4 separate regions of the Homo sapiens genome follow, and all the other regions are linked to region 1. Evidence: promoter capture Hi-C in 16 types of primary human blood cells and fetal thymus (Javierre and others, 2016). All regions are on one chromosome and are shown on one strand. Each heading gives the region's core, a stretch centred on a gene start or on the middle of the fragment in contact. The rest is flanking DNA. Distances are from core to core; before and after follow the strand shown. Region 1 holds the start of PRDM16 (PR/SET domain 16). Region 2 overlaps PRDM16 (PR/SET domain 16). Region 3 overlaps PRDM16 (PR/SET domain 16). Region 4 overlaps PRDM16 (PR/SET domain 16).

What was found. Contacts are between HindIII fragments. The CHiCAGO score rates a contact against its expected background, and 5 or more counts as called.
Region 2: a fragment that was not itself captured here is called in contact with the fragment with the promoter of PRDM16 in region 1 in 2 of 17 cell types (megakaryocytes and endothelial precursors); the score reaches 7.3 in megakaryocytes.
Region 3: a contact is called between a fragment that was not itself captured here and the fragment with the promoter of PRDM16 in region 1, in 1 of 17 cell types (endothelial precursors). The highest score is 6.2, in endothelial precursors.
Region 4: a fragment that was not itself captured here is called in contact with the fragment with the promoter of PRDM16 in region 1 in 3 of 17 cell types (megakaryocytes, M0 macrophages and M1 macrophages); the score reaches 8.6 in megakaryocytes.

Annotation. Positions count from the first base shown.
Region 1 is chr1:3,067,442-3,070,763 of GRCh38, forward strand. It overlaps PRDM16 (PR/SET domain 16), which reads left to right and starts at 1,762. Exons shown (of 17, transcript NM_022114.4): 1 at 1,762-1,855. The coding sequence starts at 1,819. It overlaps LOC124903827 (translation initiation factor IF-2), which reads right to left. Exons shown (of 5, transcript XM_047436614.1): 1 at 2,773-3,322; 2 at 781-1,530; 3 at 1-607. The coding sequence ends at 1,507. It overlaps PRDM16-DT (PRDM16 divergent transcript), which reads right to left and starts at 284. Exons shown (of 6, transcript NR_015440.1): 1 at 1-284. It also overlaps the pseudogene LOC100420339. RefSeq lists an enhancer at 81-655. The HindIII fragment of the contact is 3,548 bases long and covers 1,225-3,322 here.
Region 2 is chr1:3,403,121-3,406,442 of GRCh38, forward strand. It overlaps PRDM16 (PR/SET domain 16), which reads left to right. Exons shown (of 17, transcript NM_022114.4): 7 at 1,619-1,766; 8 at 2,375-2,528. Among named protein-coding and RNA genes, the nearest start is that of ARHGEF16, 50 kb to the right of the region's middle. RefSeq lists an enhancer at 443-943. The HindIII fragment of the contact is 6,765 bases long and covers 1-3,322 here.
Region 3 is chr1:3,385,707-3,389,028 of GRCh38, forward strand. All of the region lies in intron 4 of PRDM16 (PR/SET domain 16), which reads left to right. Among named protein-coding and RNA genes, the nearest start is that of ARHGEF16, 67 kb to the right of the region's middle. RefSeq lists enhancers at 1,434-1,934, 1,935-2,435. The HindIII fragment of the contact is 1,076 bases long and covers 1,329-2,404 here.
Region 4 is chr1:3,364,480-3,367,801 of GRCh38, forward strand. All of the region lies in intron 3 of PRDM16 (PR/SET domain 16), which reads left to right. Among named protein-coding and RNA genes, the nearest start is that of ARHGEF16, 89 kb to the right of the region's middle. The HindIII fragment of the contact is 3,111 bases long and covers 260-3,322 here.

The sequences.
Region 1 (3,322 bases), core at 512-3,011:
TTGGGAGCCGAATCTGGGTTCGAATCTGAGCAGGGAAGCGGTGCCGACCGCGGAGGATCCAAGGCAGAAGGCCCAGCGCACCGCCGCCGCCAGCTCCTGCCCAACCCGGCTCCGCTGGGCTTTTCCTCTGGGGTGGCGCCGGCCCCGCGCCCCTCCCCATCCGGGGCGCCTCTGCTAGGACACCGGGGTCTCGGGGTTTCTCAGGGCTGCTGCGTTTCACCTCCTTTAACGCGGAGGCGCGGAGTTGCACGTGTGGGTCTCAGTGGAGCCGCCACAGGTCTTATTACACAACAAAGGGCAGGGAGGGCAAGGCCAGGAGCCTCGCGGGGCGGCGCAGAGACCCCGCATCGCGGGCGCGACCCCTGCCTCGGGCTCAGGCTGACTCTGCGGCAGCTCCAAGTCCCGTTGCCGGGCAGGACTTCGGTGCTCCGGAAGGGTGCGGGGCAGCAACCTGGCCAGGGCAGCGCCTCGGTTTCCTTCCAATTCATTCTCGATTCCCAGATACTCAGATGAGAAATCCGCACTCAGGCCGTCAGGCTCCTGGGCCCGGGCCACCCTGCCTGCGCTCAGCCCGGCCCCTCCGCCGCAGCGCCTCGGAGTTTGGGGGCTACAGGGGAAGAGGAAGCGTCTGGTCGGCTCCCGTCCGAGCTGCTCCACCTGCGCCGCTGGCCTTTCCGCCCGCTACGCACCTGGGCCCCGAGAGGCCAGAGGGGAGTGTCCCCAGTGGCCCGGGTCCCCGAAGGTGGCCCAGCTCGGGCGCTCGCGCAGCCGGGTACTCACCTTGGGGGCGCGGCGGCAGGAGAGCGCGGGCGGAGAGGTGCGGGCGCCCTGGGACGACCAGCCGAGGACGCCTGGTGTTTGGACGGCTGCCCCCGCGCTGTCCCCCCGTGCGAGGCGTGTTGGCCTCCGTGGCCTCGCGAGGGACCGAGGGCGGCGGGTCCGAGTGCCGCCCGCCGGCCTGGGCAGTGGCGGAGCGCGGAGCTGGCGGCGCCTCCGCTGTTGTTTTTGAGCCGCGAAGCCCGAAGCAGCAGCCGTTGGGTGGGGGCGAAGGGGAGGAGGCGGGGGCCGGGAGGCGCGAGGGGGGCGGTGGGGCCCGGAGGGGGCTTCGGAGGAGCCGGGTTCTGGCGCGCGAGCCCCGACGCCCCCTCCAGCGATCGCAGGGCGGGGACGGGGGCCGAGGGGAGAATGCAGGAGAAAAGCGGGCCGGGGCGACGGGGAACGCAAAGCTTTTAAATTAGTAATCAAACGCAGTAAAACGGAGCAAAACCAGCCCGGACTCGCGTCCGAACTATCGGCGCGTGTGCCCCGAGATCCAAGGAAGTCGTGTGGAAAACCGCAGCCGCCGCCCCATCTTCGGCCCCGGCTGGGGCGGGAGCAGCAGCGCGACGCGCCGCGACGCAGGGGCAGGGTGGGGGGATAGTCACCTCGCCTCCGGGGCCACCTGGGTCCTTTTAAAGTGTCCGGGGTGCGGGCCCCGGGCGGGAGCGCCGAACACGGAATGTTTTCTTAAAGGGCCAGTTCCGAGCTGCGCTGAAAAGGGGGGGGGGGAGAGGGGGGAGAGATAAGTGAGACGAAGACCGAGAAGGCCGAGGAGAGCCCCCCAATCCCGCGCCGAGGCGGCGGCGGCGGCGGCGGCGGCGCGACGATGAGGATGATGAATACATTGCAAAGTTTTTTTGGCCCCGGCGAGGGGTGTCAGATTGAGTGCTCTGTGCGCATGTGCGAAGGTGTCCAAACTGACAATGCTGGGGAGATGAAGATAGTGTGTGGCTGCTTCTGGACTCAAGGAGGAGGAGAGAGATTCCGCGAGCCGACACCATGCGATCCAAGGCGAGGGCGAGGAAGCTAGCCAAAAGTAAGTCTCCCGCGCTCGGCCGCGCCGCGCCGCCGGGGCCCGGGCCGCCGGGCCGGGGCGCCCGGGCCAGGGGTGCGCGTCGGGGCGCGGCCGGCGCGCCTGCGGCTCCGGGCCCCCGGCTCGGCCGCGCGGCCCGGGGGGCTGCTCCGCCTCCCGCGCTCCGGGGCGACCGGGCTCGGCGCGGAGGCTCGGGGCGCCCGGGCCGCGCGCTCCCCGAAGGCGCCGGCCCCCTCCCCGCGGAACCCCCTCCCCCCCCACCAGTGTCAGGCGCTCGGGCCCGGGAACCCGAGGCGCGCGGTGGGGGCCGGGGAGGGGGGCGGAGGGGGAGGGCCGGGGGTGGAGGGGAGCGAAAAGTGAAAGTTAGCGAAAAGTTGACGAAAGGGGAGAGCAACTTTTTCCTCCCCGCTCGCTCTCTCCCTCTCTCTCTCCGAGTGGCTCTCAGTCCTGGTCAAATCATATTCCGGGCTTTTGAAATAGTGGGCGCTAGAGCACCGCCTTTGGCGTCCGCCAGCCGGGCGCAGAGGAGGGAGACCCCGAGCCGGGGAGGGGCGGAGGAGGGGGCGCGGGCCGGCGCCCACCCGGCTCCGCGGGCGCAGGGGCAGGGGTGGCGACGGCGGGACAGCCGCAGCCACTTGGGGAGCAAAATGGAGACTTTTGCCCGGGCTGGGAACTGTGGTCGTGAAGTTTATCCCCGGCTGTGCCCCGCGTGGTGGAGGGCGCTCCTCTGGGACGCCGGCAGCCTGCGCGGGCCGCCGGGGCGACAGTGCCTCCGACAGGAGGGACCCACCCGGCCACCTCCCGACCCGCCGCTGCCGCCCTCGGGCCCGCGTGGACCCCTCTGTACCCGCTTGCCTGGCACAGCCGGGCCCGGCGGGGACAGAGCTGCCCCGGCCAGGCTGCCCGGTCCTCGGTCTTACTTTCTCTTTCGCTCCGTCTCGGCCGAGCCCCGGGCTCCGCGCGCCCCGCCTGCCGCCAGCCGGTCCTTGCCGCGGGCCGGGTGCTCCAGCCACCCGCGCCCTCGCCCGCCACAGCGCCTCCGAGCAGCCCGCGCGCACCCCGCAGCCCCGGTCGCCGGCGCCATCCGCGGTGAGGCGGGCGGGCAGGTGAGGACAGGCGGAGCCGCGGCCCGGCCAGCGCGGCTCCCGCAGCCCCGCCGAAGCCCCGGCTGCAGCGAAGCGGCCAGCGCCGCGCGGAGCGGAATCGGCGCCGCCTGCTCCCGCCGCCCCCTCCTCTGCAGGCCGCCCGCCCGCCCACCCGCAGAAGAGGCGCCCGGGCCGCTCCCCTCGAGGTCCCCGCCCGACCCACGCCGTTCCGTCCGCGCCTCCGGGGCCGGGTCCCTCCAGGCCGGCCTCGCAGCTCCCGGGGCCGAGCCCCCAAACGTGAGCCGGGTGCGCGCGGGACTCGCGGCGGTTTTCCGAAGCTCCGCTCCCTCGGCTCGGGGCCCGCCCGGCTCGTCCCAACAGCTGC
Region 2 (3,322 bases), core at 159-2,658, 340 kb after region 1:
TGTAGACAAAGGGCCCCCTGGTGGGACACACCCTGGGGATATGTGCCCCTTCTGGGACACTGGCGCTGCGGGCAGAGCAGGTGCAGGATCCCGTGGCCAGAGCCGCAGGTGTCCCCTGGCTCCGACCGCAAATGTCCTGGCCCCAGAAAGCCACCTCCTAGGCTCATGGCCCTGCCTGCCAGGGCTGCGCTGCGGGGAGAAACTAGAAAGGAGAAAAACTCAGGCCAGAGCCCAGACCTGCAGCCGCTAAGCCCAAGGCTACTTCTGTAATAAGGTCCCAGACCGGGATGGGGGTGGCAGCACCCACCACCAAGGGATTCATGGTGGCCCCACCCTCCGGACACACGAGCAGCTCCTTCTCAGATGGTAGGCAAGAGCCAGAAGGGGTCACCCCTATCCCCAAGGCACCAGCCCTGCTCCCCACCAGGTGGCAGCGGACTGTCCCAGGAGGGGCTTCAGAGACATGAGCGGGCCCACGGTGGCCCTCCCCTGCCCTGAGACCAGGCAGGAGCCAGCATCTGGGGCCTGGGCGGCCTTGGGGACCTGTGGCCCCCGGGAAAGACAAGATTCCTGGTCTCTGTGGGGAGTGAAACCAGGACATTCAGTCCAGTGCTGTAAGGAGCTATGGAGACTTTTCCAACCTGGGCCCCTCCTCCTGCCTTTGAGGATTTCCTCCAGGACAGCCTCGCAAAGTCAGAGCAAAGCCCATCAGGCCACTAACCGGCTATGTGATTGCTGGGGATTACCGCCCATCCCCGCACCGCTCCCTGGGGACGGCAAACCCTCCACCCGGAACAGATGACTGAGAAAATAAACGTTTGGGCAAATCCCAACTGCGGCCCTTCCCAGTAAACGCCGCTCAAGAGGGTCCGTGTTTTCTTTACATAAACACATAAATCACAATTAACAACGGGGGAAAAGATACAGTCTCCTGATGCTCGGGAACCAGGCGTTTCTGATCTGAATGGATGGCTGGGCCCCGTAATTAACGAGCCGTGATATATCACTGCTTTGCTCATGAAGATTAACGGTCATCCCTGGGACAAGGGAAGCCGGGGGTCCCCCAAGAGCAGGGAATTAGAGCGACTCCTTCATCCAAGTGCAGCGGCCCCTCCGAGCAGCTGTGCTCGGGTCCCCTCCGTGTCACCTGGAGACCCCCGAGTGACTCCCGACCTGCGTCCTCGGTGTGTGCCCAGCACTCAGAGGGGCATCCTTGGGTTTGGGGGACTTGCCCCACTCCTGGGTTCATGCCAGTGTTGAACCCCTTTTTTCTTAGGCCCAAGCCTAGCTGCAAGGCCAGGACCAGCTTGAGAGGCACCCAGGGAGTGTGGGCCGGGGTCCGGCACTGCCTCCAGCCGCCCTGGGGGTGGTCTTGGGTGAGGGATGGAACCATCCAGGTGCCGGCTTCCCCATCTGCTAGGGGAAGGCCGCCTCTGCCCCTCACAGCCCGGCCACGGCAGAGAGGAGGTGGGCAGGGAGACACCAGCATGTGCTCTGATCCCTCGGCAGCGTGGTGGGGGCTCCGAAGGGGCACTGGGAACAAGCTGTATGGTTGGGGTCCCCTCCCGGGCAGAGGGCAGGTAGTCGGGCCCCGCAGTGAGCCTCGTCCTCTGCGCAGCCTGGAGCAGCACATGGTCATCCACACGGAGGAGCGCGAGTACAAATGCGACCAGTGTCCCAAGGCCTTCAACTGGAAGTCCAACCTCATCCGCCACCAGATGTCCCACGACAGCGGCAAACGCTTCGAATGTGAAAACTGCGTGAAGGTAACCTGCGGGGCGGCCCCGTCTCAGCCCCGGGGCAGCAGGAGGCTGCAGACGGGCGCCCGCCCCCGTGCTCCCTACACCCCCTGGTCCAAATGTAGATGGAGTGCGGCAGAGTGGGTAGGAGGCCCCTGCGGTGGCTCGGGCCCTTCCGTGTGACTAGGAAGGAAAGGAAGTCTCAGGGAAGACCGTGTCCCCCAGGTCAGAAGGATCAGGGCCGAGACCAGAACCCAGGCCCCTCCAGAGCGCGGCTCCTGTCCTCCCGCCGGTGTGGAAGGAAGAGGCTGGCGGGGCTGAGCCGAGCCTCCACCCCGAGCCCGCCAGGGTCTCAGCACCACAGCTGAAAACGCTTTCTGCAGCCCTGTCTCACGCAGCCTCAGTTCAGGAATTGTTCTTGAGGAAAGCAGCCGGGGAGGCTCTGCGGCTCACTTAAGGCCCTGCAGCGGGTCCTTGCTACACAGAGACCTGTCCCGGCCTGCTTGGTGCAGACTGCAACGTGGCAAGAGAGACAGGCAGGGCCCTGCCCCCCACAGCCGGTTGGTCCGCCAGCCAGAACCAGGCCAAGGCGGGTGTCCAGGCAGGGCACGCGCCAACGGCATCCGTCTCCCCAGGTGTTCACGGACCCCAGCAACCTTCAGCGGCACATCCGCTCGCAGCACGTGGGCGCTCGGGCCCACGCCTGCCCCGACTGCGGGAAGACCTTCGCCACGTCCTCCGGCCTCAAGCAGCACAAGCATATCCACAGCACGGTGAAGCCTTTCATATGTGAGTGGTCGCCCAGCCTGGCCGCCTGCCCTCCGGGTGCGCGGATGCCGTGGCGGTCGGGCCGAGGTGGGCCATCCCCCAAGGTCTCCCCCGATCCGAGGGGCCCCAGTTTGTTCATAAAGCACTCATGGCAGGTTCTGACATCTCTGCCGCGTGCAGCCTGGTCCCCGGCAGGCACCCTCTGAGTTTGTCCCTCACTGCTCCCCTTCCCCATCCCGTCCTCCTCCACGGCTCCCCTTGCTTCACCTCACAGGGGCTGGAGGGGGGCAGTGGGTGATGGGAGGGACCAGGGTCCTGCAGAAGGAGCTGGACCCTCCCTCCCTGTTGCTACTCCCGTCCCCCGAACTCACTCCCCACCTGTGCCGAGCTCCAGAAGGGCGTGCTTCTGTGCTGCCCTGCACGTGACAGTCTCAGCAGACACCCACTGGGATTGTCAGGGCGGTGTCTCTAGGGGGCCCTGTCTGTGCCCAGTGCTGTTCCAGTGCGGGGGCCAGCCCTGAATAAAAGACCAGCTGTCTTTAGGAGGCTCGCACACCAATGGGAGGAGACAGGCAAGCCAGACAAGCAAGGTGGCAGGCACAGCTCTGGGTGCAGCGGTGTGGGGTTACAGCCTCACAGGGGGCCAGGCTGGCAGCCTGGTGTGGGAGCTGAGACTGCCTGTTCGATGAGAGGCGTTCCAGCAAAGACACAAGGAGAGTGAGCCCTGGGCACCTGTGGAGGAGGCTCAGGAGGGAGCTGTGAGCGTAGAGGCCCAGAGGCCAGGGTTTGTTTAAGGAGTGAGTGAGCGGAGTGAG
Region 3 (3,322 bases), core at 617-3,116, 320 kb after region 1:
AAGAGTCCGCACCGGCCAATGAGGCAGCCACTCGGGGGGCCTCCTAGAGCCTCCGGGGCCTCTGACCAGCCTGCTGAAGGCCTTGGCCTTTTTGGCACAAAGTCCCTGTCCTGCAGGCAGCGAACCAGGCAAGAGATACCTTCACTTCCGTCCCTGCCACCTCGGGGCTGAGGAGCCCCCTAAGCTCCCTGGATCCTTGACCTCCACGGCTGGTCCACACCACCACCAGAACAGGCATCCAGACCCACAGGCTGATCAGGGGAGAAGACGCGGAGTCTCCTTCCACTCCAGAAGGCACCGTGTCCCCAGAGCTGGTCGCTGCTTCATGGATTTCTCTATTTCAAGCTTGCGAGTGGCCCCTGGAGGCCCTTCTCACTCTCAAGCCAGGCCTCCCGGGCGGCACTTTCCGCCTGCATCCTGAACACCGTGCGTTCCTCGGGGTGCCCGGGGTGCCCGGGGTCCCCGGCCCCTTACATCACAGTAGTCTGGTTTTTCCTGTAATATCTTGGGGTCATACATGAGATTTCATTTGAAAAAAAAGAAAAGGATCCCATGGCTGTGAAAAATGTGTGTGAAGACCACGTCACGGAACATTCCCGCGTAGCCTGTGCAAGCCATTGAAAGTGATTCAAGGCTCTCGACTTTACAGAAACAATTTTGCATTAAGAAATGCACAGAGCAAACTCCAGGGAGGTCCCGCAGGCCCCGGCTGGCTGCCAGGGGCTCTCCCTCATTTGCCGTCCCCTTGGCTGTGGAGCAGAATCTCCATCGAGCAGTTGCTCCGCTGGACAAGCTCGTTCTGGATGGGGACATGAATCTACGCTACTACCAGGACTTCCGTGGCCTTCAGTTAGAGCCAAAAATGTTTAAAATAACTTTTTCTGATTGAAAAAAAAATACAGAGATGAAGCAAAAGAATAATCATAAACATAAGAGCAGAACTTAAAAAAATTTTTTTCTTTCTTCCAGATGAAAGTGAAATTGGAGTGAAGGAAAATTGGGCTTGAGGCGCATAGAAGGACGGTCTTTCCGTCCCCTTCTGGGGCTCAGATTTGCAGAGTGTGTCCTTAGTCGTCCGTTGGGAAGCTGACGGGCAGGGGCACCGCGGGGCTGGGCCAGGGCTGTGCTTTTGTGAGATGCAAACTATAGTAATGAAGGGCCCAGATTTTTTTTATTTAAGAAATAAATGTTTATTAGAACTTTTGAACTAAACTTAAGCGGTAAAGTGGGTATCTTTATGTGTCTAGCTTTTTAAAAAACAAACGTGTAATCTCAAAGAGAAGCCTGTCTTTAAAAAAATCTTCATTGTATTATTAATATTTCGGGGAAGCTTTCCTTTTAGCTACACATGAGGTCCAAAAGGAATGGACTGCTTTGCAGCCAACTGTGTTTCCATGGTCAGGACCAGGGGGCAGAAATCCTTTTTGCCAGGATGGAAGAATGATCCTGAATCCTGATCCGTTCCTTCCCTTTACCCCACCGTCATCCCACAGTGCCGACTTCCTCCAAAGCTCCGTCCTAGAGTCAGAAACATACTTGGCGCTATTACCCAAACCACAGATAATGTCAAAACTCCTCAGATACCTCCTGACCTGCTAGATGGCTCTCTCCAACACCGCCTCAAGGGATTCGTTCTCTCTGTTTTAGGTCCATAGGCTGAATTAAAGCCACAAACCCAGAGGGAACTCGAAATGCACATTTAAGCAAATGCAACACCAAAATGGCCCAAAGCAGAGAGAAATTCCTCCACTCGGGGCACTTCCGACCCCCTCAACCCCCTTGTGAGACCTTCCCCTCCGACAGGGAGAGGAGCCCTCTGCTCTTGAGAGCACCCCTCATAGGTAGCACAGCCGGTGACGTCGGGTGTTACAGGGCCACCGACGCTCCTGCCCATGTCCCCGCAAAGGTGCACCTCCGAGCTGGATAAGCCATGTGGCTGGAATGCCCGGGAAAGCAGGAGCCGGCCAGAGGCTGGAGGAGACTCGCCGCCCAGGCACGGGGAGTGAGGTGGCTGAGTTGGCAGCTTCTTCTCCTGAAATCTCAACCGTGAATTTCAGTTATCAAACGAAAATGAGCATTGTGTGGAATGTATTTTCCTTTGAATAATAATAAGATTTAAACACTACAAATATGAAAAACTGCTCTCAGAAACCCATAGACTCTCATAGGACATGACTTTTAGCAATGCCTTTTGAAAGGGATATAATAGATTTCAATCTAGTGTTTAAATGCCCTCTCGCGCGCTGTGACGGCTGTGACGGCCGCACGGCCTCGGCAGAAAGCATTTCCATTCCCTGGCCTTGACCACGGGAACGTGGGTTCCTGCAAAGCAACCTATTTGACCCTATGCGGAGCTAAAATAAAAACTGCCCTGAAATATTAATAAAGCCAAGAATTTTTTAAAAGCTTTTAACAACTTCTCTTTGAGAAGGAAACATCACATGATACTAATGCCATTTCTCAGATTTCCACCATGCCAGGAGTTCCACCAGGATTTCCTGGTACTTACGAACACCATCCCCACACACAAACACACACAAGTGAACAATCTTCCTCCCTTCCCCTCTCTCTCTCCCTCTCTCTTTCTCTGTCTCTCTCTTTCTCTGTCTCTCTCTTTCAAGATTGCACACACACCCCCACCTCTAATACAGCACAGACACAGAAGGGAAGGAACCATATCTGAACATCCGAGCTCCGTAAAACAACGTCGAGTTTGCCAAATGGTATTCGGCAGGGAAAATACTTCGGTCAGAAAAGCATCACCATCATTTTGAGGTTCAAGACATGTGACCTCAGCCCCCATTTTCAAAGGAAAAAGGAGACTAGGGCAGAAGACAGTGTAAACGTCCTAAAAAGAAAGTTCTGGAAGCCACAGCCTCCCAGAAGAGATGAGCTCCTCTACTGGGCTGAGGAGAGAGGCCGCTCTGAACTGAAAACTCAGGTCGATATTCAGATGGGGACCCAGGCTGGGGCTTTCCCCGAGTCTCCTGCTACTGGCAGCCAGGACTTAAGCAAACTCTGGGGCCTGGCCTCCAGGGTGCTCCTATGTCCTTGGGGTGAGACCCACACTTTAGGGGCACTTTGGAGGCGGGGGAGTCACACACCTCCTTCAGCCCATCCCGGGCTCCTCCTGGCCTTCACTGGATGTGGGTTGCTGTGCATTCAGATGGGGTCTGGGGGCAGACGCCACCCCCGCATCCCTCATGGTTCCATGCAGTGTACTGGCGCTCTAGCTGATGCTTTGGGGCGCTCCAGGGCACCTGCTGAGCTGGGCAGTGCAGCACCCACAGGCCCGGTTCTGACTGTCTGGCCAGGACCCAAT
Region 4 (3,322 bases), core at 565-3,064, 300 kb after region 1:
CCCCGGAGGATGGCTCCTCTTCCATTCCAACCCAGGCCTCCACTGAGCCGTCCACATCCAGGATTCCCACCGCTCAGCCCCTCACCCCCGGCAACAGCCTAGTAATGACCCTGGGCTCCTGCACGTGGCCCCCTGGTGCAAGGGCAAAATTAAAGCAGGCTGGACAGCAGCATAGTTATTTGCTGCCGGGCAGTGACTTCCTCCCCCACTCAGCTGCGCGGGGGACAGGCGGGCCTTATGGAAACCAGAGGCAGAGCAAAGCTTTAATTTTCATGGCCGGGCCAGGAGGCCCAGAGGCCCAACATGGGCCCGCGCAGCCTCAGCCAGGTGCCCCGAGCAGGACACGTTGCTTCGGAAGGAAGCAGCATGTTTTCGGGGACCCTGTGGTTTCTGGGTGCTGCTGTTCCCACCTGGCGAGCGCTGCCTTCTGCACGCTGCCAGGGCTGTGTGTGTACGCCGTCCCTCATTCCCTCGTGCAGCCTGGGAAAGCCTTACCCAGTGCTGGGCCCCTGAAGTTTCCTCCCAGGGGATGCAAAGGAAGGGAAGGCACCAGGGTCCCCAGGAGAAAATAGGTTTCTCTGAGCCAGGGACCCACTCGGCCAGTGGGCGAGGGCAGCAACCTGGAGCTGGCACTGTGGGTTCCTTTTGGGTCTGTTCAGGAAAGTGGGAGTCGGGTCGCATGGCCCCCCGCCTGGAGCTTGGCAGTGCCCAGGGGGCCTTGGGTGGGCGCAGTGACCCTGGGCGCCCTGTGCCGCCGTCCTCCTCTGCCACACACTCAGCCTGCTGTGGCACCAACAAACCCCTACCAAGCACCTACTGTGTGTCACACGTGTGCCAGATCTGGTTCCCCACCCCTGGGCTGGGGGCTGTCCCTGCCCCTGAGGGTCAGGAAGAGGAAAGGCGCGTGTGGCTGGGTTTGGGAAGGAAGGAGAGGCAGTGAGGAGGGGACCTCCTGGCCAATACAAGTGCTCCCTCCCGCCTCTTCCTCCTTATATTGGGCAGGCCCACACCCCAAAGCCCCACTGTATTCCACCACAGGACCTGAAAGAGCTCTGGACCATGGGGTGATCCATGGGGTTGGTGGTGCCCCCAGAGTCAGCCAACAGACAAGGAGAGGGAATACTGGGGGCTCTGTGCTAGGCAGCCAGCGGCCCTGAATGTTAGCTGCAGGCAGAGGTGTCAGGCCCTGAAGCTGCCACTGCACACACAGGTCATAAATCCCGCCTAAGTGGCTCCCGTCACCTCGCCGCGGCCTCGTTTCCATTCTGCAGCAGCCAAAGGTGATTAATGAGAATTATCATTTGTGCTAATCAGAGCCGTTTGGAGGAGGTTGGGGTGGAAGGAAATGCCCTTTGTGGGGCTGCAGGGACGACTTTGAAGGCTGTCAGCTGCACGTGTTTATGTGCGCAGGGATGCACGTGCACACACATGCACACATACACACACGCACACATGCACACAAACGCACACGCATGCACACATGCACACACACGCACACACGCACACAAACATGCACACATACGCGCACGCACACACACATACACATACATGTTCATGCCACATACGCACAGAACTGGCCTGTGGGGCCAGGGAGGGTCTGGGAAGATGGCGAAGAGGTGAGGCTAAGAAATAACCCTTGACCTGTGGCTCAGGGGGGCTCTAGCGCCCCGATGTGCCGACAGCCGGAGAACACAGGCTTCGCACAGCTTGGTCCGGCTGGAATGAATTCTTTCCTGCCACTGAGCACGACCATGACTTAATGCGCTTGGCGGCCGCTCGCAGACTAGACAGGCTTGGCCAAAATCAGACCCAGTGCAGCAGGACTCCGGGACGCGCTGATGTCCTGACGGGAAGGCACGCACTCTCTGTGGGTTCTGCCTTCTCCCCTCAAGTGGACGGCCGTGTCCCCTGCCCTGGGCCCTCCATGCCTGTTCGCGCTCAGTATGCCGGGACACTCTCTTCCCACCCATCTCCCAGGCTGTGCCGACCAGGGCTGTGCAGCGGGCCTCCCAGCCTCCGTAGCCTGCTCCGGGGGCCAGTGTGGCTTAAAGATACAAAGTGTCCTTTTATTGGAAATATCAATTCAGAAAGGGGCTAGTAGTAAGCTGAGAATATTTGGATAATCTTGACAGCCCTGAGGACTAAAAAAGACCTTTTGTTCCCAGAGAGAAAAAGGCCGTCGCACCACCCTGGGCTTGCTGGAGCAGTTCCAGAAAAAACTGAGGTCGGAGCAGAAAAATGATTAGGGCGTCTCGTGAAAGATCTCTACTCTAGGTCAAATGTTTATTATTATTTATTTTATTTTTTTACTAGAATGTGTGGTTAACATGCTATTGCATAACATCAGGCTGTAACCGTGTCTGTGAACACCACGTCAGTCTACCCGGTCTGTAGTGCACAAAGAGAACTTTGTAGCATCCCGGGGAGTGAGGGGGCTGCACGTGCGTGTTTTGTTTTGCTAGGCTTTGTTTTCAGGATGCTGACGACCGGTTAAAGATGGAGCAAGGGCCGGGCACAGTGGCTCACGCCTGTAATCCCATCACTCTGGGAGGCCGAGGCCGGTGGATCACCTGAGGTCAGGAGTTCGAGACCAGTCTGGCCAACATGGTGAAACGTCATCTCTACGAAAAATACAAAAAATTACCCGGGCGTGGTGTTGGACCACTGTAATTTCGGCTCCTGGGGAGGCTGAGGCAGGAGAATCTCTTGAACCCGGGAAGCAAAGGTTGCAGCGAGCCGAGATGGCACCATTGCACTCCAGCCTGGCCTGGGCAACAAGAGCAAAGCTCTGTCTCAAAAAAAAAAAAATTGATGGAGCAAGCATCTTTAGTGTTTGCGGCTCAAGAACATAACTGCCATGGGGAGGTCTCTGCTCCATTTGGACAGGAAGCGTGTGCGGGTTTCATGGCAGACGTGACTTGGGAGGGGTCTTGTCTGGCAGAGGAAAGTTGAATTCAAGCTCTTTGCTGTGGTTGAGCCAGGTGGGGACACCCCTAGATGCTACCTTTCAGCTGATCCCAGGCCTAACGCACCCACAGCCAAATGGCTTTTGGGGAGTGGCTGGAATGTGACAGCTGCCGGCCCAACAGCTCTCAAAAGTGCCGGGCTCAAGCGTCCATTGTCCAAAAACACGTGCGGTCCTGTGGTTCCCTAGGTTCACAAGGAGAACTTCTTCCCCGCTGTAGACTACGTGTATAAATAGAACATATTGGCAAGAGTGGAAGGAGTGTATTTTAAAGCACTTACACTTCTGAATGTATGTTTTATACTGATAAGAATTAATGGAGCCGGTAGTGAGTACACTGATTTTCAGTGTTATGAT